Linked DNA regions of Homo sapiens: regions 2, 3, 4, 5, 6 and 7 are each linked to region 1. Evidence: promoter capture Hi-C in 16 types of primary human blood cells and fetal thymus (Javierre and others, 2016). All regions are on one chromosome and are shown on one strand. The core of a region is centred on a gene start or on the middle of the fragment in contact, and the rest is flanking DNA. Distances in the headings are between cores, read along the strand shown.

The links. The method cuts DNA at HindIII sites, captures the fragments that hold promoters and counts their contacts. A CHiCAGO score of 5 or more calls a contact.
Region 2: the fragment with the promoter of REL here is called in contact with the fragment with the promoter of FAM161A in region 1 in 1 of 17 cell types (non-activated CD4 T cells); the score reaches 6.1 in non-activated CD4 T cells.
Region 3: a contact is called between a fragment that was not itself captured here and the fragment with the promoter of FAM161A in region 1, in 2 of 17 cell types (monocytes and total CD4 T cells). The highest score is 6.9, in monocytes.
Region 4: the fragment with the promoter of SANBR here is called in contact with the fragment with the promoter of FAM161A in region 1 in 1 of 17 cell types (activated CD4 T cells); the score reaches 5.0 in activated CD4 T cells.
Region 5: the fragment with the promoter of C2orf74-DT here is called in contact with the fragment with the promoter of FAM161A in region 1 in 14 of 17 cell types (naive CD8 T cells, total CD4 T cells, activated CD4 T cells and 11 more); the score reaches 22.4 in naive CD8 T cells.
Region 6: a contact is called between the fragment with the promoter of C2orf74-AS1 here and the fragment with the promoter of FAM161A in region 1, in 11 of 17 cell types (fetal thymus, total CD4 T cells, total CD8 T cells and 8 more). The highest score is 20.5, in fetal thymus.
Region 7: a contact is called between a fragment that was not itself captured here and the fragment with the promoter of FAM161A in region 1, in 1 of 17 cell types (M1 macrophages). The highest score is 6.0, in M1 macrophages.

The regions. Positions count from the first base shown.
Region 1 is chr2:61,852,602-61,855,516 of GRCh38, reverse strand. FAM161A (FAM161 centrosomal protein A) reads left to right here and starts at 1,457. Exons shown (of 7, transcript NM_001201543.2): 1 at 1,457-1,658. The coding sequence starts at 1,476. RefSeq lists enhancers at 264-313, 1,054-1,283, 1,524-1,683, 1,844-1,973. The HindIII fragment of the contact is 5,666 bases long and covers 1-1,883 here.
Region 2 is chr2:60,880,066-60,882,980 of GRCh38, reverse strand. It overlaps REL (REL proto-oncogene, NF-kB subunit), which reads right to left and starts at 1,407. Exons shown (of 10, transcript NM_001291746.2): 1 at 1,131-1,407. The coding sequence starts at 1,140. It overlaps REL-DT (REL divergent transcript), which reads left to right and starts at 1,667. Exons shown (of 3, transcript NR_033980.1): 1 at 1,667-1,749. RefSeq lists an enhancer at 995-1,664 and a silencer at 1,273-1,812. The HindIII fragment of the contact is 7,860 bases long and covers 1-2,915 here.
Region 3 is chr2:62,704,337-62,707,251 of GRCh38, reverse strand. EHBP1 (EH domain binding protein 1) reads right to left here and starts at 1,539. Exons shown (of 23, transcript NM_001142616.3): 1 at 1,200-1,539; 2 at 1-355. The coding sequence starts at 60. RefSeq lists silencers at 1,203-1,282, 1,403-1,662 and an enhancer at 1,693-1,832. The HindIII fragment of the contact is 7,077 bases long and covers 1-2,915 here.
Region 4 is chr2:61,064,311-61,067,225 of GRCh38, reverse strand. It overlaps SANBR (SANT and BTB domain regulator of CSR), which reads right to left and starts at 1,355. Exons shown (of 22, transcript NM_001129993.3): 1 at 1,199-1,355. RefSeq lists silencers at 756-815, 826-1,175, 1,206-1,575 and enhancers at 465-964, 965-1,466. The HindIII fragment of the contact is 4,406 bases long and covers 1-2,915 here.
Region 5 is chr2:61,143,527-61,146,441 of GRCh38, reverse strand. It overlaps C2orf74-DT (C2orf74 divergent transcript), which reads left to right and starts at 1,467. Exons shown (of 2, transcript NR_036496.1): 1 at 1,467-1,669; 2 at 2,497-2,915. It also overlaps a transcript of C2orf74 not described here. RefSeq lists enhancers at 1,289-1,638, 1,333-2,254. The HindIII fragment of the contact is 8,178 bases long and covers 1-2,915 here.
Region 6 is chr2:61,176,835-61,179,749 of GRCh38, reverse strand. C2orf74-AS1 (C2orf74 antisense RNA 1) reads left to right here and starts at 1,465. Exons shown (of 2, transcript NR_183879.1): 1 at 1,465-1,644. It also overlaps the pseudogene AHSA2P. RefSeq lists a silencer at 2,010-2,559. The HindIII fragment of the contact is 7,287 bases long and covers 1-2,915 here.
Region 7 is chr2:61,209,017-61,211,931 of GRCh38, reverse strand. USP34 (ubiquitin specific peptidase 34) reads left to right here. Exons shown (of 80, transcript NM_014709.4): 69 at 3-160. Among named protein-coding and RNA genes, the nearest start is that of C2orf74-AS1, 32 kb to the right of the region's middle. The HindIII fragment of the contact is 989 bases long and covers 977-1,965 here.

The DNA of each region.
Region 1 (2,915 bases), core at 208-2,707:
TGCTATAATTCCTTATCAATACTTTTGTTGGTGGTGGTGGTGGTGAGACGGAGTCTTGCTTTATTGCCCAGGCTGGAGTGCAGTGGCGCCATCCCGGCTCACTGCAACCTCCGCCTCCCGGGAGTGCGCCTGTAATCCCAGCTACTCCGGAGGCTGAGGCAGTTTTGTAGCCACAAAACTGGCTGCCGTGTCTGACTGGAAATTGCTCCCCTGGAAACTTGGCCACACCTGGCGGTGCATATCTCATGGTTCTGGCTCTGGCTTCTGCTTAGAACCCAGTCAGCATCTGTTCCAGCATGGGAAGCAACTGTTCAGCTAAAACCAAGAGCAGCCTGAAGGAAGTGGGGACGTAGGAGACTTTGTAGGTGCTCACACCCAGACAGGAGAACAAAGGTTTGGTAAGGGCTCAGACCTTAGAGACGGGTTCTCGACGATGTGCAGCGCATAACGAGGAAAATACTGACCGGAGGGGGCCGGTCGTAGGGCTGGGGAGCAGGAGGAGGGCAAAGGATAGAGAGGGGGTAGATAGGGAGTAGATAGGGGGCGGCAGCCTCGGCCTCAGTAAGCAGGGGCTCAGGGAGCAGATGTCTGAGACTGCACCACGTCCGCTATTTTGAGGTTTGGCTTCTCTTACTGCCACGTGGTGCAGAGGGAAGGCGCCATTTGATGCGTCCAAATCCCGAGTGGGAAGAGAAGATACGGATGAGGGAGATGGATGTGTCTGTGGTGACTCTTGGGCACTTGTGCCGTTCAATCCTGTCACTCTCAAGCTGAAGAACCCAAAGCAAACGCCAGGTTTACAATACCTGCACTATCACTCATTAGTGGGAGGGTCAGGCGCCACCCAACTCTGGGCTTTTATTGGTCATGTCAAGAAAAAAGCGAGAGGGACAACTGGGAGCCTCCTTCTGATTGGTGGATTCCTGCTAGCCCTCAAGTCAATCAGAGTAGAATGTACCGCCCTCCTTCCCACTCTGGCCCCCGCGGGAGACATGTTAGGTAGCGGGACGCCAACCTTGTCACTCTTCTGAGACCGCCACCCAGTAACACGCCCTGCTTTCCTCCGCCGCCGCCGTCTCCTCCATCAACTGTCTCCTTCTAACATGTTATTGCAGTTAATAAAAAAGCGTTCTTTTCTTCACAAAAGCAGTTGTTTCATTGTATAATGTGAGAAGTCTGCGTTCAGGCGGTTAGACGCAAAGGAGTGGAATAAGTGCCCTGTTCAGCCTGCCAACCTTCGGAACCAGCCAACAGACTCGGTACTGACTGCCATGATCCAGTAAGCACCCGACTCGGGTCTCTGGCAGCCTGAGTGGATTTTGCGTGACTTTTGGTCCCTGGCGGCTCCTGTAGCGTCCCCAGTTACGGCGCCCATAGCAACCGGCTCCCTAGCTAGGCGCCCCCGGGTTGCCAGGGGCCGCACCAGCTTTCCCGTCCCGGGCCAGCGCAGGCGCTCAGGCCTCGGAGGCGGGGCGATGGCCACCTCCCACCGAGTGGCGAAGCTGGTGGCCTCCAGTCTCCAGACCCCGGTAAATCCCATCACTGGAGCGCGGGTCGCCCAGTACGAACGCGAAGACCCCTTAAAGGCCCTGGCGGCAGCGGAGGCGATCTTGGAGGACGAAGAGGAGGAGAAAGTGGCTCAGCCCGCTGGGGCATCGGTAATACTGGGGCGGGACTTGGGCTGGGACCTCGCATGGGCTGGGTGCAGGCTGAGGGCTGTCCGGTTCCCCGCCCAGCTGAGGGCAGGCTGGTAAACGCGGGTCCCTGTGCACATAGTCCCTACTTGGTGGTCCTGGCCCAGCCCCTTCTCTACGCTCACGAAAATTACTCTAAATCGAGGCGTTGAAAAGTGTTTTAATTTTCACCAGTCTGTTGTAAAAGCTTCCTAGACAACATTTATGTTACTCTGCTTCTGGCAAGTGCAAAGTATAGAATTTTACTCTCTACTCTCCAGCATCTCGGGAATGGATATATAGAGATATATCTGGCTATATATAGTAATTTGAGGAAAACTGTTCTGTCAGGTGTGTTTCGTTATTACCTTAAGATCTTGGTTATAAGCGGATCTCAACATAGTGCTCTAAAGATGTGTGTTTAAAACCATCACGTGTTCACTGGCTAAATCAGACACGGATACAGATAAGCAAATCACTGAGGTTTCAGTGTTTCCTAAACAGCTCTTTAGGGTACAGCGAGACGGCCTTTTCACTGATCAGTTTTCATTGTTAAATCTGTTGTGGACACCAGTCCAGCAGGTAGAGGGCAGGGTCTGCCATCTGCTCAATTCACTTAAAAGATGGGAATCTTGGCCGGGCGCGGTGGCTCGTGCCTATAATCCCAGCACTTTGGGAGGCCGAGGTGGGCGGGTTACGAGGTCAGGAGTTCGAGACCAGCCTGACCAACATGGTGAAACCCCGTCTGTACTAAAAATACAAAATTTAGCCGGGCGTGGTGGTGCGCCCCTGTAATCCTAGTTACTCGGAAGGCTGAGGCAGGAGAATCGCTTGAACTTGGGAGGTGAGGGTTGCAGTGAGCTGAGATCTCAGACCCAGTCTCAAAAAAAAAAAAAAAAAAAAAAGATGGGAATCTTGAATTTAAACTAGCAATCTGCAGATAGAAAAAATTTCCTAATACCATGTGTCCAAAGCTTCTCAGACACCAAACTTATGATTGAGGACTAACTGAAATCACTGGATATTTTGGAATTCTGATCTCTTTAATCTACAGTAAAATTGTTAATGAGAACATCTTTAGCAACACCTTTTGTGACCAATCTTTCACCAACAGACAAACAACTTGAAGTTATCCAGAGTAAGGCAGACTGAGACCCTGAACATGAACCAGGATCAGAGTGCTAGGACCGATTTTGTTCATGATGAAGCTACCCCTCAACACAATTTTCAGTAGGCAACAAG
Region 2 (2,915 bases), core at 158-2,657, 970 kb after region 1:
TTAAGCTCCAGGCAGCCCCAACCACATCTGTGTATATAGGAGACTTTCTTGCTCTGCAATGTTTCTTACAAACTTATTCCCCCCCAAAGGGAGAGATCGAGCATTTATTAAGGGAAAATATATAGTCACATAAGTGATAAAGTTGTATTCATTCCTACTCATTATTTTAAAGCTCGGATATTCTAAAACTCCTCTTTCCCCTTATTTCCAGCGAGGAGGAAGGGGGATTCAACGTCTCTATTCGTCAGATTAGGAACCTTGAGCTTTATCTCACAGTAAAAACTACATTTTTTTTTTTTTTAAATAGAGACAGGGTCTCCCTCTGTCGCCCAGGCTGGAGTGCAGGGGCGCGATCTCGGCTCACTGCAACCTCCACCTCCCAGGTTCAAGCGATTCTCCTGCCTCAGCTTCCCGAGTAGCTGGGATTACAGGCGCGCGCCACCACGCCCCGCTGATTTTTGTATTTTTAGTAGAGACGGGGTTTCACCATGTTTGCCAGGCTGGTCTCAAACTCCTGACCTCTGGTTATCCACCCGCCTCGGCCTCCCAAAGTGCTGGGAATACAGGCATGAGCCACCGCGCCCGGCCTACACTTGGTCGAAGCAACATTAACACTTAAAATACCACGGATTTTCTAATTCGTGTTAAAATACCACGGATGATTTTTAAAGCCGTGACACATTTTGTACAACTGTCAGTACAAGGGGGATCACCTCTTTGCATTTGATGAAATTAAACTAAAAAGGGGGAGAGAGCTTGCCCGAGGTCTGAAGGTTCCTCATTCCTGTTCTAAAACATAAAACCACCATCTTCAATACATATACATTTTTAATGAGAACTCTTCGTCCTCCTTTGGTTCGCTTATGACTTCCCTAATCCTAAAATCAAGTCGTTGGGAATTTCTAAGGTTCCTGCTATGACAACAGGATCGAATTACAGAGCGTGGCTTGGATTCTGCACGCAAACCCTGAAGCAGGTAACTTTTTTAAAAGCTGACAATTTTACCATATGAGATTTTAAAGACAGAACGCGCCCCAGCAAAAACTGAGCTCCCTAAACTCACTGCGGCAGGACCCCCTTCAGAAGAGCTCCTTTCCCCCGGCCCAGGCCCGCGCCCCATGAACACTCACCGGAGGCCATGGCTCCGCTCCCCGCACCTTCCCGCAGGCAGCTCCCAGCGTCCTGGCCGGAGGCGGCCGCAGTCAGTCAGTCAGGAGGCCGAGGGACCTCTGCCGGCGGGGCCCCCAGTCCCCCGACCACCCTAGAGGCCTCCTCCTTCTTCCCGCCCTCCGCTGGGTTTGCGGCTCACACCTTCCCAACCCCTGAATTCTTGCACCCCGGGTCACCCAGCGTCGCCGTCCACCGTACGGGAGCCAGGGGCAGGGGGCGGAGCGGGGAGAGCCGAGTGCTGGCCCAGCCGAGAGGCGAGCAGCCTGGCGGGAGGGGAATTTCCCGCGGCTGACGTAGGCCCGACGCAGCAACCCTCACCCGGAGGCGTGGGCGGGGCGACCTCGCGGCCGCCGCGCGCGCGACCGCCCCCAGCGCCCCGCCCCTGCCTGTCCCCGCGCACGCTCCCCGCCGGCCCCCACGCATACGCCCCCGGCGCTGCTGCGGCGGCTGGCTTGGGAGGGGGTCGAGGGAGCGGGAGCTTGGGGTGGGCTTCGGGAGCGCAGGGAACGGCGGGAGCCGGGAGGTGACGGCTAGCAGCGTGAGAAGGCCGCTGGCTCCTGAGAAATCCCCCTCCTCCAGGTTGTTCTTCCGAGTGTGGTTTAAAGTTCAGGAGCGGGCGGGAGGGTGCGGATGACGTAGAGAGGGCCGGCCGCTGGGGAGCTTTTGGGGGCGCGCGGGGCCGACTCTCCCGGCCTGGGAGGGCGACGGCCGGGGTTTTCGAGAGGTGGTTCCCCCTCTTCCCGACTTCGCACATGCAAATCTCCACCCCCGCGCCAGCGGCGGGACGTTGCGCCCTGTAGGGGGAAGTGGTGCTGCGGCGGGGGTCCTGTCTTCTTCTGTAATTCCTGTATTTGCATACGGGGACCCCCCCCCCGACTGATTTTTTTTCCTCCATCTAAATTGCGAGGGTACTGTGAACTTTACGTATTTTACCTACTGAAACCCGTTTAAACTCAAAAGGTCCGCACTTGGAGTTCGTTGTCTCATTAGGCAGTGCACTGAAGTTTAGTGGACACTATATCCTGAGATTTCACACAGATGCCAAGAAAGGCGGAAATGGAGCACACATTTAGTGCATTAAAGGACCTAGGATAACTTCGTTTCCTTCATTTGAATAGTACCTGCTATGCATCAGATAATGTCCATACTTAATCTATGACGTATTTATTATTCCTAACTTTATAGATGAAGTATTCGGGGTTCAGAGAAGTTACTTCAACATACAGTACTTCAGAATGCTGATAAAAGGCACAGTTTAAAGCCAGGGTTGTCTGACTCCAAAGCTCCATGCCCTTGCCCCTGTCCCTTACTAGTTAAAATTAGTACGGAGAGGTAATGGGGAATATCAGCCTGCCATACAAGTGCCCAAAACTGGGGGACCCATATGGGCAAATAATTTAAAATATCCTGCCAACCCCAAACTGTTCTTTCCACGAAATGCGCAATGTACAACAAAAGAATGAAACAGTTTTATTATTGGATATGTACTAAAACGTACCATGATGCACATCACAGGCAATCCACTGAAGAGAGTGCAAAGACCAAAAAAAAGGAAATCTCACCTTTTCATATGGTCAGGCACGTACAATCCATTACATACCTATTAATTGTCTTTATCCAAAGGAAAATAATGGGAAGTTATCTTGGAACCAAGAGCCAAGGCTTAAACCCTCCTAGAGACAGAAACATGGAGCACCATCCTTGATGTTCACATTTCCAAGAGATGGCTCCGAGGCCCGCAAGAA
Region 3 (2,915 bases), core at 232-2,731, 850 kb before region 1:
AAACTGGAACTTGGATGCATGTTTTCCCACACGCTGCAGTCTCTTCCAAACTGAAGCCATGATGATCAGTCAAGACACTGGAGCAGTTCTGGGTTAGCAATACAGCAGCTTTAATAATGCAGAGGGTCCAAAGCAAAGGAACTTTGCATGTATGTCTTTTAAAAACTCAACTACAACTCGAAATGATGCTTGGGGTCCATAAGTCTTCTCCCTGTTTCACAGGGTAAATCCCATCTTAGATGAATGGCCCAGTCAAGAACACTATGATATACGTGACAGGATGAGTGGGAAGGGGTTCCCTCATGGAGACATCACCATGCCACCTCAGGGGCTATATGATGGGTATTCTGGAGGGCTGAAAAGCAAAACAAAGACAAAAAGAGAAAGAATATGAGGAGAGAATCATGAGAAATGACTAACCACCCATGTTAAATAACGCTGCAAAAGACCATCCCAGTTCTCTGCATGTCTTTTAAACAATGAAACAAAACACTGACCTCAAAAGCCAGTAACATCAAGGATGCAAGACACCAAGGAAGAAATTACAATTCACACCGAAGACGTGGAGCGACACATCAGGTAGTCAGCACCAACAACAATCCAGAGAGACGGTAACTCGGGGCCCTACCTCCCCCTGTTAGCATCACTGAAGGGCGAGCAGAGCGGGAAAGTCTAGGGATGCTGTTTAATGTCCACCGCCAGAAAGAGGGAGAAGTGGAGTATTTTTTAATAAACTTTGTTTTTCAGTCGATAATTAATAGCCTCAAGTCCGACAATATGTGCTTGGAACAAATTAGGGAGCCAGGAGGAATGCTATTTTTCAGTCGGAGGGAGGAAATGGATGGGGAACGAGGAGTGGAGGGAAATCTCCAGGCAGAGAGAGGGCAATGTCCCGGCTCCAGGCCACTTGGGCTCCTTCGCTGCCAACCGGAGGGAAATGGAAACTCCTGCCTGGGGGTGAAGCAATGACCAGCGGGGCAAGTGGACTGTGCAGGGTGCGGTGCCTCCCTCCCCCATCCTCAGGGAAACAGTCCGCCGGAGCCCAGTCTCCTCACGCACGGAGCCCAGACCCCTGCCCCCCAGCGGAGACAGGCGGTGGCTCGTCCGCGGTCCCTGTCACCCAGGCGATACCAGAAGACCCCAGCCCGGACCCCGAGCCCCGGCCCCGCCGCTCGTCCACTCCCGCCCCCTCCTCACACCTCTAATCCCGCTGTCGGGCTGAGTCTGGCCCCGTTCCCTTCTCATAGCCGCTCCTCCGTCGCCGCCGCAGCAGCAGCCGCCGCCGCCACCGAGTCCTCCATCCCCGCCGGAGCCACATGGAACAGCCAAGCCAGCCACGGCGCTCGCGGTAGCCGGGATCTGCAGCCCCTCAGGCGGACGGCGCCCCTCACGCCCACCCCCTCCCTGACAGATCGCCCCGCGACCGTCCCCCACCCTACCAAGCCCTGCCAGAGCCACCGCTCAGCGCCCAGCACCCCCTCCCCCGCCTTTCTCCTCCGCCACCATCATCATTACCTCCCCCGCCGCACCTCTCACACTAACCCTACCCACGGCAGCTCAACCTCCACCGCCCCGCCGCCATTGGCCAGGCCCCGCGCGTGCCCCGCCCACCTCGGCGGCCGGGTCTTACAGCGGCTGGGGCACCTCATTGGTAGAACTGCCTGCCCATCACAGGGGCTCCGCCTTGCCCTTGCTCGGGAGGTGGTTTTTCCCCGAAGCCGGAATGCGACGCACAGGCTACCTTTTTTTTAAAAAAAAAAAGAAGGAACCGACTAAGGACGATCCCGCCCGTTCTTCTGATTGGCTTGGAGAGGGAAGCGATAGGCGGGAGGAATAGGGAGTGTTTATAGTGAACTGCAAGGTGATTGCAGAAGGTGGCTGTCCGTCAAAGGCGCCGCTGGTGCGGGGCTGGGTTTCTGGCCCCTAAGGGTGATTGCAGACCTAGAGATTGGCTTCGCTGCAGCTGTGGGCAGTGCAGCTGCCTGTGGGTTTCTCTCCTGTTCTCATCTCCGCCAGGACCTGGGCGCGCCCTCTCCTCCGCCACTGGCAACTAGGGTTTTTGCGCATAGCCTTTATTTCACCAGTTCCTCCTGGGATCTTACCTGACAACCTGAAGTAATGACCCTGTCAGGCACCCCCCGACACCCCGGCCGCTCCCCGCCCAACATAGAGTCAACTGGTCTTCAGTGGGATTGAATCAGCTGAGCTAGACACAAAATGTGTACAGTACAATTTCTTATTGTTCGGAGTCTTCAACATTTCTTTGAATCTTGGTTTCCTCTTCGCTGTCGGACTCTTTTGCCCCTAGTGAGAACTGTAGATGGATTTGGGAACAGCTAGCATATAAAAAGGGTGGTCAAAGGCAAAAAGGAGGAGGCAGAGTGAGGGCAGGGACACTCAATCTTGTTAAAAGAGCCAAGGGCCCTTTTGAGAATATGAAAGCTACAGATACTTTCTCAAGGGGGAAAAAGTGTTCTGTCTCAAAACACAAAAAATTGTTTTCAGTTTTAGGTGGTTCACAGACCCCTGGTGTGGAGAAAGAGGACAAAGAATGAAACTTCAGGGGAATCCTAGCATCTAAGGAATAAACAGAGTAAAATGGGAAAGAGACCGAGAAGGAATAATCAGAGAAGTAGGCGCATCAGCAAGCTATGGGCAGACAGTTTGGAAAAAAAAGAGAGGCAAGCTAACATAAAAAGAAAGCAAGCGGGATGGGTTCTGGAAACAAGGATCATTCAATCTTACGAAGGTTGGAAAGCAGGGTGCATGGACAAAGTAGCTTGAAAGGTGTTAGGGTCTAGGGAGGATTCTTTCAGGGACAGGAAGAGAGAGCAGTGATGGGTGAGAATTGAGTCCATCTGTAGACATTGGGGGCCAAGACAAAGTGGAGAGACATGTTGAAGAATCAAGAGAGA
Region 4 (2,915 bases), core at 106-2,605, 790 kb after region 1:
TTTTCTGTTGACTTTCTCTTTATACAACTGTACTAGGCAAGGGAAGACCCCCCAGCATTAATTCTAGTTAAATGAATGTCCAAGAAATCAGAGTCTGAATTTAAGTATAAAAGGCATAGCATTGATGGATAATCCTTAATAAAACATAAATTATCTCGAAATAGCTGTTATAGTGCACCTCATTCAGGAAAGTATAAATTTATCAAAAACGGTGACAAGAAAAAGCTCAAAGTTCAAATTACTATGAAATCCACTCCCATTCATAAAATATCAAAATCTTGACAATATTTAAGGTAAAATACGTTATTTACCAAAAATAAAAATCCAATATGTTTAACAGACTTCATTTTTTAAGAACATACTTCCCCTCCCCTCCCCGACCCCCTTCTCTTGGTTTATGTATTTAATATACATGTATTAATTAAGAAGACTAGTCTAAGTCACTTCCACACCAGATAGAGGTCTACAACAGGAATCTGATATATTTTTTTCTTATTTCAAATAGAAAAAAAAGCTCTTGGAGACAGAGACGTTTTCCCTTAGCCAGTGGAAAGATGGGAAGAGAGGGGGCCCCGTGGGGCAGGCAGGCAGGCAGGTCAAAGGCCTCTGGCCTAACAGAGGGCGGCGGTAACACCGAGTCATCCCGGACCGGGAAGAAGCCTTGTACCCAGGCTTCCTGACTTCTGCACACACAGGAGATCGGAGTCAGCTGGAGGAGAAAGTAAAATCACATCCCAGAACCGGCATGAGGTCAAAGCCAGTCAAACCTTGGGCCCGGAGGCTCACTACGCGGCGCGTCCTCGGGGCACCCCCAGACCTTCGCGCCCCGCTCCCGCCCGTGGAGGCACAGAAACTCCAGGGGCGCAGAGCGGACAAAGGCGCCGGGCAGCGGGAGCGAGGCGGGGCAGAGGCCCGGGGCGCGGCCGGGCGCGCAGAAGCTGGGGTTCCCGCCGCTGTGCGCGGGCGGGACGGTCTGCAGGGACATGGACCGGGCGGGTGACGGGACGCGGGCCAGCTGGCTGCTCGAGGCGCGGCCGGCTGAGGCTGTGCACGGGGGCGTTCGGGGGCGTTTGGGCAAGTGGGACCCCGCCCGGGGTGGGAAGCCGCGGCGGGAGCCGGCTGGCTGTGAGCGGTACCGCCCCATGCCGCACTTCCCGCCCCGCGGTGGGCACCCGAGCCCCCTCGGCGTCTCGCTCACCTCCACAGGGCCGCGGCTGCCCTCGCAGCGCCTCTGTTACCTGCAGTGGTCGGCACCGCCCGCGCTCGCGCCCTGAAGCTGCCGCTACCGAGCCCGCAACCCCGTCCGCAGCGCCTCACACCCCGCCCCCGCCCGCTTGCAGGCGGCTGCGGAGACTAGCGCCGAGGGGTGGGGGAGCCGCCGAGCCGACGCCGCCCGGCCAATCGCGGGCCAGCGCCGCAGCGGCGGAGCCAATGAGCGCCGAGCCCCTGCCGGGCGGGAGGGCACCGGAGGGGCGGCGGCGGCTGACTGTCGCCTTGCCTTGCCTGCTGCTTCTCCTTCCTCCTCTGGCATACACTCCCAGGCTTGTCGCAGTGCAGCGTCCCCACCCTCCCAGCGTCTTGTCTCTTAGCAACCAGATCCTAGGAGCCTGATCTTAGGTGACCAACCCTGAGTCCAGAAGAAAGGGGGATATACAGGAGATAAAAGATTAAAGAATGGATGAAATTGTTCTTGGTGCAGATCATTTGGTACACCGCTTAGGTAGAGCGGAAAGATCGCATGATGAGGGACACCGAAAGTATCTTTTAGACCAAGGTCTTTGGGTAAGGACCTGAAGTGTCTTTACCAGGAGGTAGCTCTTTAAAAATGTAAATAGCTCTGGATTACAAATTCGGTTTTCATACATTAATAGGGTGTGTGTGTGTGTGTGTGTGTGTGTGTGTGTGTGTTATTGTGAGGAACACTACTATTGGGCATCTAGTAAAATGCAAACGGCTCAATATTGTAGGGTAACTGCTACATGTCAACATTTCTATCTAATTTCCACTTGGTCTATTCTGAGAACCAAAATTAAATGTTAGGATTAGAAAGAACAGAAAAAGTAAAGCCTTAACCAAATGAATAATTACTACGAGATCTGATGATTAAGTAGAGATTAAGTGGTTCACTGTACAGAATGTCAGGAGTTTTTACCAATTGTATCATCCTGTGACTTTCTGCAGATCTTTTACGATTTTTGTTCCACAAAGACATTAAAGTGGCTGGGTGCGGTGGCTCACACCTGTAATCCCATAATCCCAGCATTTAGGGAGACCAAGACGAGAGGATTGCTTGAGCACAGCCTGAACAACAAAGTGAAACCCTGTCTCTACCAAAAAAAAAAAAAAGTTGTTTTTTTTTTAAGTTAGCTGGGCGTGGTGGCCCCAATGAGCTATGTTTGCACCACTGCACTCCAAGCTGGGCAACAGAGTGAGACCCTGTCAAAAATAAAAATAAAAATAAAGTTAGGCAAGTGTCGTATCATAAGATGTTAGGTTAAGTCAGGTAAATTCTTTTTTTATTTTTTTGAGATGGAGTCTTGCTCTGTTGCCCAGGCTGGAGTGCAGTGGCACCGTCTGGGCTCACTGCAACCTCCACCTCCCTTCAAGCGATTCTCCTACCACAGCCTCCTGAGTAACTGGGATTTACAGGCGCATGCCACCATGTCCAGCTAATTTTTTGTATTTTTAGTAGAGATGGGGTTTCACCATGTTGGTCTTGAACTCCTGACCTCAGGTGATCTGCCCGCCTCGGCCTCCCAAAGTGCTGGGATTACAGGCGTGAGCCACCATGCCCAGCCAGGTAAATTATTATTATTTTTTTTTTGGAGACAGAGTTTCGGTCTTGTCACCCAGGCTGGAGTGCAATGGCGCGATCTTGGCTCACTGCAACCTCCGCCTCCCTGGTTCAAGTGATT
Region 5 (2,915 bases), core at 218-2,717, 710 kb after region 1:
TTGAGAAGTCTCTCACCCTATCTCAGTCCTACCCTCCATCTCATAAGAAACCATGACTATTAGTTTCTTGAGTATATTGCCAGAATTTATGTGGAAATAAGGATCATATGACTCTCATTTATCCTTTTCTACACAAAAAGCATAATTTATACACTGTTTGGCACCTGGGCTTTTTTCGCTTAGTAAGATATGCTAGAGATGGTTCCACATTAGTATGTTGGGAACTGATTCCTCACTCTTTTTCATAGCTGCATAATGTTCCATTGTGTGTATGTACTGTAGTTTATAATATCAGTCTTCTGATGGATACTCACGTAGTTTACAACCTTTTGCTATTACAATCAATAATCTCATACACATATTACTTTACATGTATGCAAGTGTATTTGGAGGCAAAATTCCCCAAAGTGGGATTGTTGGATCAAAATGCAAATATTATTCAGTGTGGTTTTGATAACCACTAAGGATTGCTGCATTCTGCTCCTACTAGCACTGTAACACTGCACCTGTTTTCCTGACACCCTCCTATATTGAGTATATTACCAAACGTTTCAATGTTCACCAATCATGATGATTTGCATTTTTATTAAAACTGAAGCTGGCCTGTAATCCTAGCACTTGGTGAAACTGAGGTGGGAGGATTGCTTGGGCTTGGGAAGTGGAGGCTGTAGTGAGCTGTGATCGTGCCACCTGTCTCAGAAAAAATAAAATACAAAACAGGCCGGGCGCGGTGGCTCACGCCTGTAATCCCAGCACTTTGGGAGTCTGAGGCAGGCCGATAACCTGAGGTCAGGAGTTCGAGACCAGCCTGGCCAACATGGTGAACCCCATCTCTACTAAAAATATAAAAATTAGCCTGGCGTGGTGGCACCTGCCTGTAATTCCAGCTACTCGGGAGGCTGAGGTGGGAGAATCACTTGAACCCGGGCAGCGGAGGGTGCAGTGAGCCGAGATTGCATTACTGCACTCCAGCTTGGGCAACACAGGACTCCATCTCAAAAAAATAAATAAATAAATAAAAAACACAAAAACATGCAGCTAAGCATCTTTTCATATATTTAAAGTCTATTTTTAACTACTATTTTTCTGTGAACTTGGTACCCCAGTACTTCGCCCATTTGTCTAATGCACTGCTGCCTGTTAATTCTTAGATATTTTAAATGAATATTTAATATATTTATATTTGGAAAAACTTATCCAAGGACAAAAGATGACGCTAAAACTCCTGTTATAAAACGAACATACCAGCCTTTCCCCCACGAGTCTGGAATCCGGCCAGAGCAGGATTTTAAGACTCTCGGACGACGTCAACATGTCCTCGGATCTGACTGCGCAGGCTCCAAATAGCTCGCCCGAACCCTAACATCTGTGTGCGCATGCTCGCTTGATTCCTAGCGGAAAGTTTGTGTGCGCATGCTCCAAGGAGCCGCGCCCCATCGGCTTCCCTAACGGAAAATCCGCTGCGCATGCTCATAAACCTGCTCTCCTAGGAGACCTGAAGGCTGCTTCCGCTAACCCGGGCTGGCGCTGCTAACCTCACCCAACGATCCCTGCTGTCGGAAAATGTCCAGAGGCACCATCCCTGCTATGAAGAGGGAATGCCAGTACAACAGCCACAAGGGGTCTTCCTGTGGCCCTCAAACAAAAAATCACTGCATTACATCAGCAGGTATTCAGCACCTGGCCCCCTCCAAACGGTGTCTAAAGCGAGTTTTAAAAATTAATGCTAGGGGCGGGACGGCGGGGGCGGAAAAAAATAAAAAATTAAATTACTTAAATTTTTTTCTCTTTTTTTAAAGAGTCGGATTCTCGCCCTGTTCCCCAGGCTGCAGTGCAGTGGCGCGATCTCGGCTCACTGCACCTCCGCCTCCCGGACTCCAGCAATTCTCCTGCCTCAGCCTCCTGAGTAGCTGGGATTACAGGCGCGCGCCACCACACCCGGCTAATTTTTTGTATTTTAGTAGAAACGGAGTTTCACCGTGTTGCCCAGGCTGGTCTCAAACTCCTGAGCTCAGGCAGTCCACCCGCCTCGGCCTCCCAAAGTGCTAGAATTACAGGCGTGAGCCACCTCACCCGGCCAAATTACATTAATATTTTATATTGAGGAGGAAGTTGGTTACAAAGGACTTTCAAAAGTGTCGGGGTTAATAATCTGCATATTTTAAAATATTCCAGGCCGGACGCGGTGGTTCATGCCTGTAATCCCAGCACTGTGGGAGGCCGAGACGGGCGGATCACGAGGTCAGCAGATCGAGACCATCCTGGCTAACACGGTGAAACCCCATCTCTCCTAAAAATACAAAAAAATTAGCTGGGCGTGGTGGCGGGCGCCTGTAGTCTCAGCTACTCGAGAGGCTGAGGCAGGAGAACGGCGTGAACCCGGGAGGCGGAGCTTGCAGTGAGCCAAGATCGCGCTACTGCACTTCAGCCTGGGCGACAGAGCGAGACTCCGTCTCTCTCTCTCTCACGCTCTCTCTCTATATATATATTCCATAGACTGCATTGGAGAGAAAGGCGCCGGGACAGAAAAGCCTGAGATAAACCACCTGTCATTCTTGGAGAAAAGGATGCTGCGGCTTTCCCGATTTGGTTGATGAGATGGAAAATCAACCCTTACAGGAAGGACATCACCAATTCCGGAAAGGATGCTGCGCCAGTCATGTTTCCGCACTCTGTGAGACGTTGAAATCTCCAGAAGTTGCCCAAGGTTTTCAAGCTGAACACAGGAGAAATGACTCTGGATCTCTGAGGACTGTTTTCCTCAATAAGGAGCTGCAATCTTGGCTCCACCACCCTCCCTCCAAAACATCTCGTGTGTCTGGTATCTGGTTATATTGTGGCCTGACAGAGAAGTTTCTTTCGGGGCCAGTGAATTAAAAAAAAAAAAAAAAAGAAAAGCGGGTCCTACCAACTCA
Region 6 (2,915 bases), core at 216-2,715, 680 kb after region 1:
TAGTGATGGCTGCACAACTCTGTGACTATACCGAAAACCAATAAATTATACACACTAAATGAGTGAATTATGTCTCAAAAAAGCCGTTTTTAAAAGAAATCCCTACCCTACTGAATGACAGAAAGAGGGAGCAGGACAGTAAGCAAAATAGTTTTGTAAAGCAAGTTTCAGTGCCTTGGGGAAAAATAAAGTAGGGAAGAAAGATGGCACAAGGCAGGAGTCTCCAAGGATGCACAGAGATGGCTTTACTCAGGACAAAGACCTGAAGGAGGCAGGCAGCTACCTGGGGGAAGAGTGCTCCAGGCAGCAATGCCGGGAGACTCCTGTTCACAAGGGCCTGGTAGAAGAGGGCCCAGCTGACAGCAATGAGCTCTAAGCAGCTGCGAGTGCTGCGAGAAGGGAAATCCCCATCCTTCTTGGCCCATGGAACTCAAGTGTGGCCAGAGTGTCAGGATCTACCAACGCTGATTCAGGAGCCAGTCAGTGTGCCAGGCCCATAGCAGGGGCTGTAAAAACATTCGCTGAATGATGAACGCACTTTGTCCCCAGCCCCACTAGTACCCTGAGGCCCCTGTTACCTTTCCAGCCCAGTTTGATGTTCCACTCATAGAAGAAAATCAGCTTTCCTTTGCGGCTGCTGCACGAAGCCTCCCCTTCCACCTGCTTCAACTCGTTGATCTCGCCGCGGCCAGCGTCATTCTCCACAACGATGCCCACCAGGAGCTCCTGGAACTTCCCTTTGGACAAGCTGGTGGCATCCCGCTCTGTCCTGCCAGGGACCAGAAAGTCGTGAATGGAAGCCCCAGCTGGGATCCACCTGCCTGGGTGCCAGGGTCACGTCCAAGCCCAGCCCAGATCGGCCCAAGTCCTCTCAAGCAGCCTCGAAACCTGCCAACCTCCAATGTGCTCCTCAAACCTGCTTTCTATCAAATTCTTTTCATCCTGCTCAGTTCTTTAAGATATTATTGTCCACTATGCAAGTAGTATTCTGTCTTAAAAACACTGGCTTATTTAAGGGAGGAGGATCTAGCTAGCTCGCCCACTGGAAATAGGCAAAGCCTAGGCCACAGGGAAAGTAGCAGTAGTGAACTAATCAGAATCATGACAATACCAGCTATCAAGTGTCTTCGCATATACATCGTCTAATGTAATCTTCCCAGGCAATATTCTCACTTTAGGGGACAGAAACGAGCTGAGAGAAATGACATGTCCATCGGGCCAAGGCTAGGACACTAGAAAGTCAGATCTAGCTCACGCCTGTAATCCCAGCACTTTAGTAGGCCCAGGCGGGCGGATCACGAGATCTGGAGTTCGAGAGCAGCCTGACCAACATGGTGAAACCCTGTCTCTACTAAAAATACAAACATCAGACGGACGTAGTGGCACGCATCTGTAGTCCCAGCTACTCATGAGGCTGAAGCAGGAGACTCGCTTGAACTCTGGAAGCTGAGGTTGCAGCGAGCCAAGATTGCCCATGCCCTCAGAGCTCCTCCGGACCAGCCAAGTCATGCTCCTCTGGGGACCGGCCTCAGCATCCCCTCGACGGCCTGGAGGGACCACAGCCCCGGCCAGAGGCGCAGGGCAGAGGACATCCCTTCCGGAGGTTCTGCGGCGGAGGGCTGCCGACCTCTCCCCACGCGCCAGGTGAGGCGCGTAAAGGAAGGGGAGCTTGTCTCACTCACAGAGGGCCCGGCTCGCGGGAGGCGCCTGCGGGGTGGGCGCGAACTGAGATCCAAATTTCTGCCCTTTCCACTACGTTCCATACCCCCGCCCCTAACACAGTCTCTCAATCCAGCTCCCTTCTAACTCCCCGAAACATCCAGAGGGGTGGGCGGGAGGAGAAGGGAAGGCCCTCAGGCCACAGACGGTGGGAGTGGAAAGGTCTGTCGGAAGTCACTCTTGGGGCCCAACCCAACTTTCAAAAAGAGGCAGCTGCAACCCTCCTAGCCGGTCTCCGTACTCAAGGACTCTCCCGAGCCGAGAGGCGAAGGCCGAGCCCTGCGTCCAGCAGCTGAGGGGGGGCGGCCCCCTGACCCCCTGGCCCCGCGGCCCCGCACAGACCCCAGGGCAGCCCCGGCTCCCGCGGCCCGGCCCTCCCCAGATCCCGGAAGGAGGCCGCCGCCAGCCGCGCCAGCGCCAGTTGTTCACGTTGGTCCCGTCCTCCCGCTCCTCCACGATCCAGTGGGGGTTCCCCTGGCCCCACTTGGCCATGGCGGCGTGGACTGGGCGGAAAACAAGGAAAGGCCGCGGCGCCTAAGGCTCCGAAGCCAGCGTTTCCGGCCGCCGAGCCCCGGGGCGGCGCGTTCGCAGCTCCCAGAAACTGCCAGAAGGCCCCGCCCCCGGCCCCGCCCCGCCCTGCCGCGGCGCGCCCGGGAGCCCCAGCCGGGATCTGGGAGGCGGGTCGCGCGGGGACGCGGGGACGCGGGGACGCGCGGGCGGGGAGGGGCTGGGGCCGCCGGGGTTCCGCTGCGCGTCTCCTAACGCTAGGGCGGGACGGGGCTGTCTGGGCCGCCTGCGAAGGGCGGAGGGCGCTGCAAGTCCCGCGGTGCTGGCGGGCTCGTGATTCCCGGCGCCGGGAAGCAGGGCGCTGAGTAGCGGGTGCCTGAGAGTCCAACCGGCAGTGTAGACGCGACACCGCCGTCAGGTGGCCTCGGCAGGCTCCCTATAGCTCTCGAGGACACGACCTCGAACGCCCAGGTCGCTGTAAGACCGGCCTTTGGGGCCACAGCGCGCACACGTCACACCGTTTGCGGATTTCGCCTAAGAGCGAGTCCGCGCCCAGTTGCCGCGCTGCGGTTTTTTCCGCGACGCAGTCTCTCGCCCTCCCCCCTTCCCGGCACCTTTCCAACTAGTCCCATGTTACTGCGGGAGTATTTCCATTTTATTCACGTAATAATCCTTTAGAGAGAACGAAA
Region 7 (2,915 bases), core at 222-2,721, 640 kb after region 1:
AGGCAGTAGAAGAACTGTTTAACCTGATGCAGCTGTTTATAGCTCAGAGGCCAGATATGAGAGAAGAAGAATTAGAAGATATTAAACAGTTCAAGAAAACAACCATAAGTTGTTACTTACGTTGCTTAGATGGCCGCTCCTGCTGGACTACTTTAATAAGGTAAAAAGATGTTTTTAGTTTTGTCTTGTTTATTTCCAGTGAGATGAGGACCATCCTTTTGATGTTTAAAGATAAATCATTTACATTGGGGAAGCATTTGTGCATGTAGCCACTTTGGAACATTTTGAAGGTTCATGAACTACTTTTAAACAGTTTTTGGTCTGGCTTTGGTTTGTATTTGTGTATGTTTTATCATTTTAGGGTTGAAGGGAACCTTTATGTATAGCCTTCTACCCAAAGCTTGAATAGTCTTGTTTATGGCAATTTATCCTAACTCAGGCTTGATAGTTCAGTTCTAGAGGCCTCCAGGAAGTTTTCTGCACCTTTGGATGAGTCTGTTAATATTTTGCATTCTGTTTAGCCCAAATATATCTATCTGGCTTTCTGATCTATATGACTTGGCCAAAATTATAAAACATAGTCTTTATAATTAATTTTCAGAGCTACAGAAGTTATTGAATGGTTACAGGAACTACTACAAATTACCCTTAATTCCCCTTAACCTAGAGAAATAAAGTTCAGGCTAATTTCTTAAATTCTTCTATGTATTACATCTAAGACTTGGAAGTGTTGTTTTTTATTAGGCACATTTTTTTTAATGGTACTTTACTGAAGACTTCACTGTAATATCTTAAGCTACTCAATCTAAGATGAGGTTATTTCAGATTGTCTTCTTTGGAAAGCTTTCAAATGTGAGTCTTCATTAGTAAACAGGGAAATTAACTACGCCTTTGCCGGATTTCTTAAAGGGATTGTTTTTAAATTTTGGATTAATTTTGAATACAATTGTTTTCCCAAAGTTTACTACTTAAAGCTTTATTTCAAAAAAGATTTAGAGCAGCCTGGGCAACATAGTAAAACCCCATCTCTATATAAATAAATAAGTTAGCAAATAAATTAGGGTGTGACGGCATGCACCTGTAGTCCCAGCTCCTCGGGGGGCTGAGGTGGGAAGATCCTTGAGCCCAAAAGGTGGAAGCTGCAGTGAGCCATGATTGTGCCATTGTACTCCAGCCTGGGTGACAGAGCGAGTCTCAAAAAAAGAAAAAAAAGATTTGGAGCTTTCTTAACTCTTCTTGAAAAAGGAAAGGAATAAAGTAGAAGGATTTCCAGTTGTAGTCTATAACAACATTTTTCTGGTATCTAATGAAAGAAGACCTGTTAACAGTAATATAGCTGTGTGAGTAATTATAGTCATGTGTTGCATAACAACAGGGTTACATTCTGAGAAATAAATTTTTAGCCTATTTCATCATTGTGCAAACATCAGAGTGACTACTCACACACAACTAGATAGTAGCGCCTGCTACACCCCTAGGATATATGGTATAGCCAACTGTTCCTAGGCTCTAAATCTGTATAGCATGTTACTACACTGAATACTGTAGGCAATTATAACAGAAAGGTAAGTATTTGTGTATCTAAACGTATTTAAACATAGAAAAGGTACAGTAAAAATATGGAATAAAAGACAGAAAATGGTACACTTGTGTAGGGCACTTACCATGAATGGTGCTTGCAAGACTGGAAATTGCCCTAGGTAAGCCAGTGAATGAGTGGTGAGGGAATGTGAAGGCCTGGGACATTATTGTACCCTACTATAGACTTTATAAACACTGTACACTTAAGCTACACTAAATTTATTTTAAAATACTTTTTCTTCATTATTAATGTACTGAACTTTTTTTACTTTATAAGTTTTTTTAACTTCTTGATTCTTCTATCGTAGCACTTAAAACACACTATCATAACACTTAAAACACACATTTTATAGCTGAACAAAAGTATTTATATCTTTATAAGCTTTTCATATTTAAATTTTTTTTCTTTTTAAATGTTTTCGTTAAAAACTAAGACATAAACACACACAATTAGGCTAGGCCTAGCAGGGTTGGGATCATCAGTATCTCTGTCTCCCACCTCCACATCTTGTCCCACTTGGGAGGTCTTCAGAGGCAGTAACTAGCTTAGAGCTGTCATCTCCTCTGACAATGATGCCTTCTTCTGGAATCCCTCCTGTAGGGCCTGTCTAAGGCTGTTTTACATTTAACTTTTTTTGAAATAAGTAGTAAAATAATGATAATATAGTAAATACATAAACCAGTAACATAGTCATTTATTAACATTATCAAGTATTAGGTACTGTACATAATTGTGGTATACTTACAAGACTGGCAGTACAACAAGTTTGTTTATACCAGCGTCATCAGAGACATGTGGGTAATGCATTGTGAATGTTACCATGGCTATGAAGTCACTAGGCTAATAGGAATTTATCAGCTCCATTATAATCTTATGGGACCACCATTGTGTTTGTGATCCATCATTTACCACAATTTCATTTTGTGGCACATGACTGTATTTTATAAACTATTTTCAAGGCTGACACGTTTTTAGTATTTTTTTCCTTCATGTTACTCTTTTTTAATTACCAGCTGATGAGTGTTTAGATAATATGGTGAATTTTATGATTATCCAGAATTTAACAATCAGAAGATGAGCCTATTATAAAAATCAACATTGTTTATGTGGAAACTTTAAAAATATTCCCATATCTTCTGCCATTGTAGATAATTAGCAGTTGATTAGATATTAATAGACTTTTTTTTAGTTAGAGTTTATTTAATATTATTTCCTTATGCTGCATTTCCAGGAAACAGATGAAGCAGTCTCTTTTCTGTAGGTAGGAAAGCAGAGAGCTTAAATGATGATTTTATTTCTTTTTATTTTTTCATCACCTAAGTGTTGTGTTCTT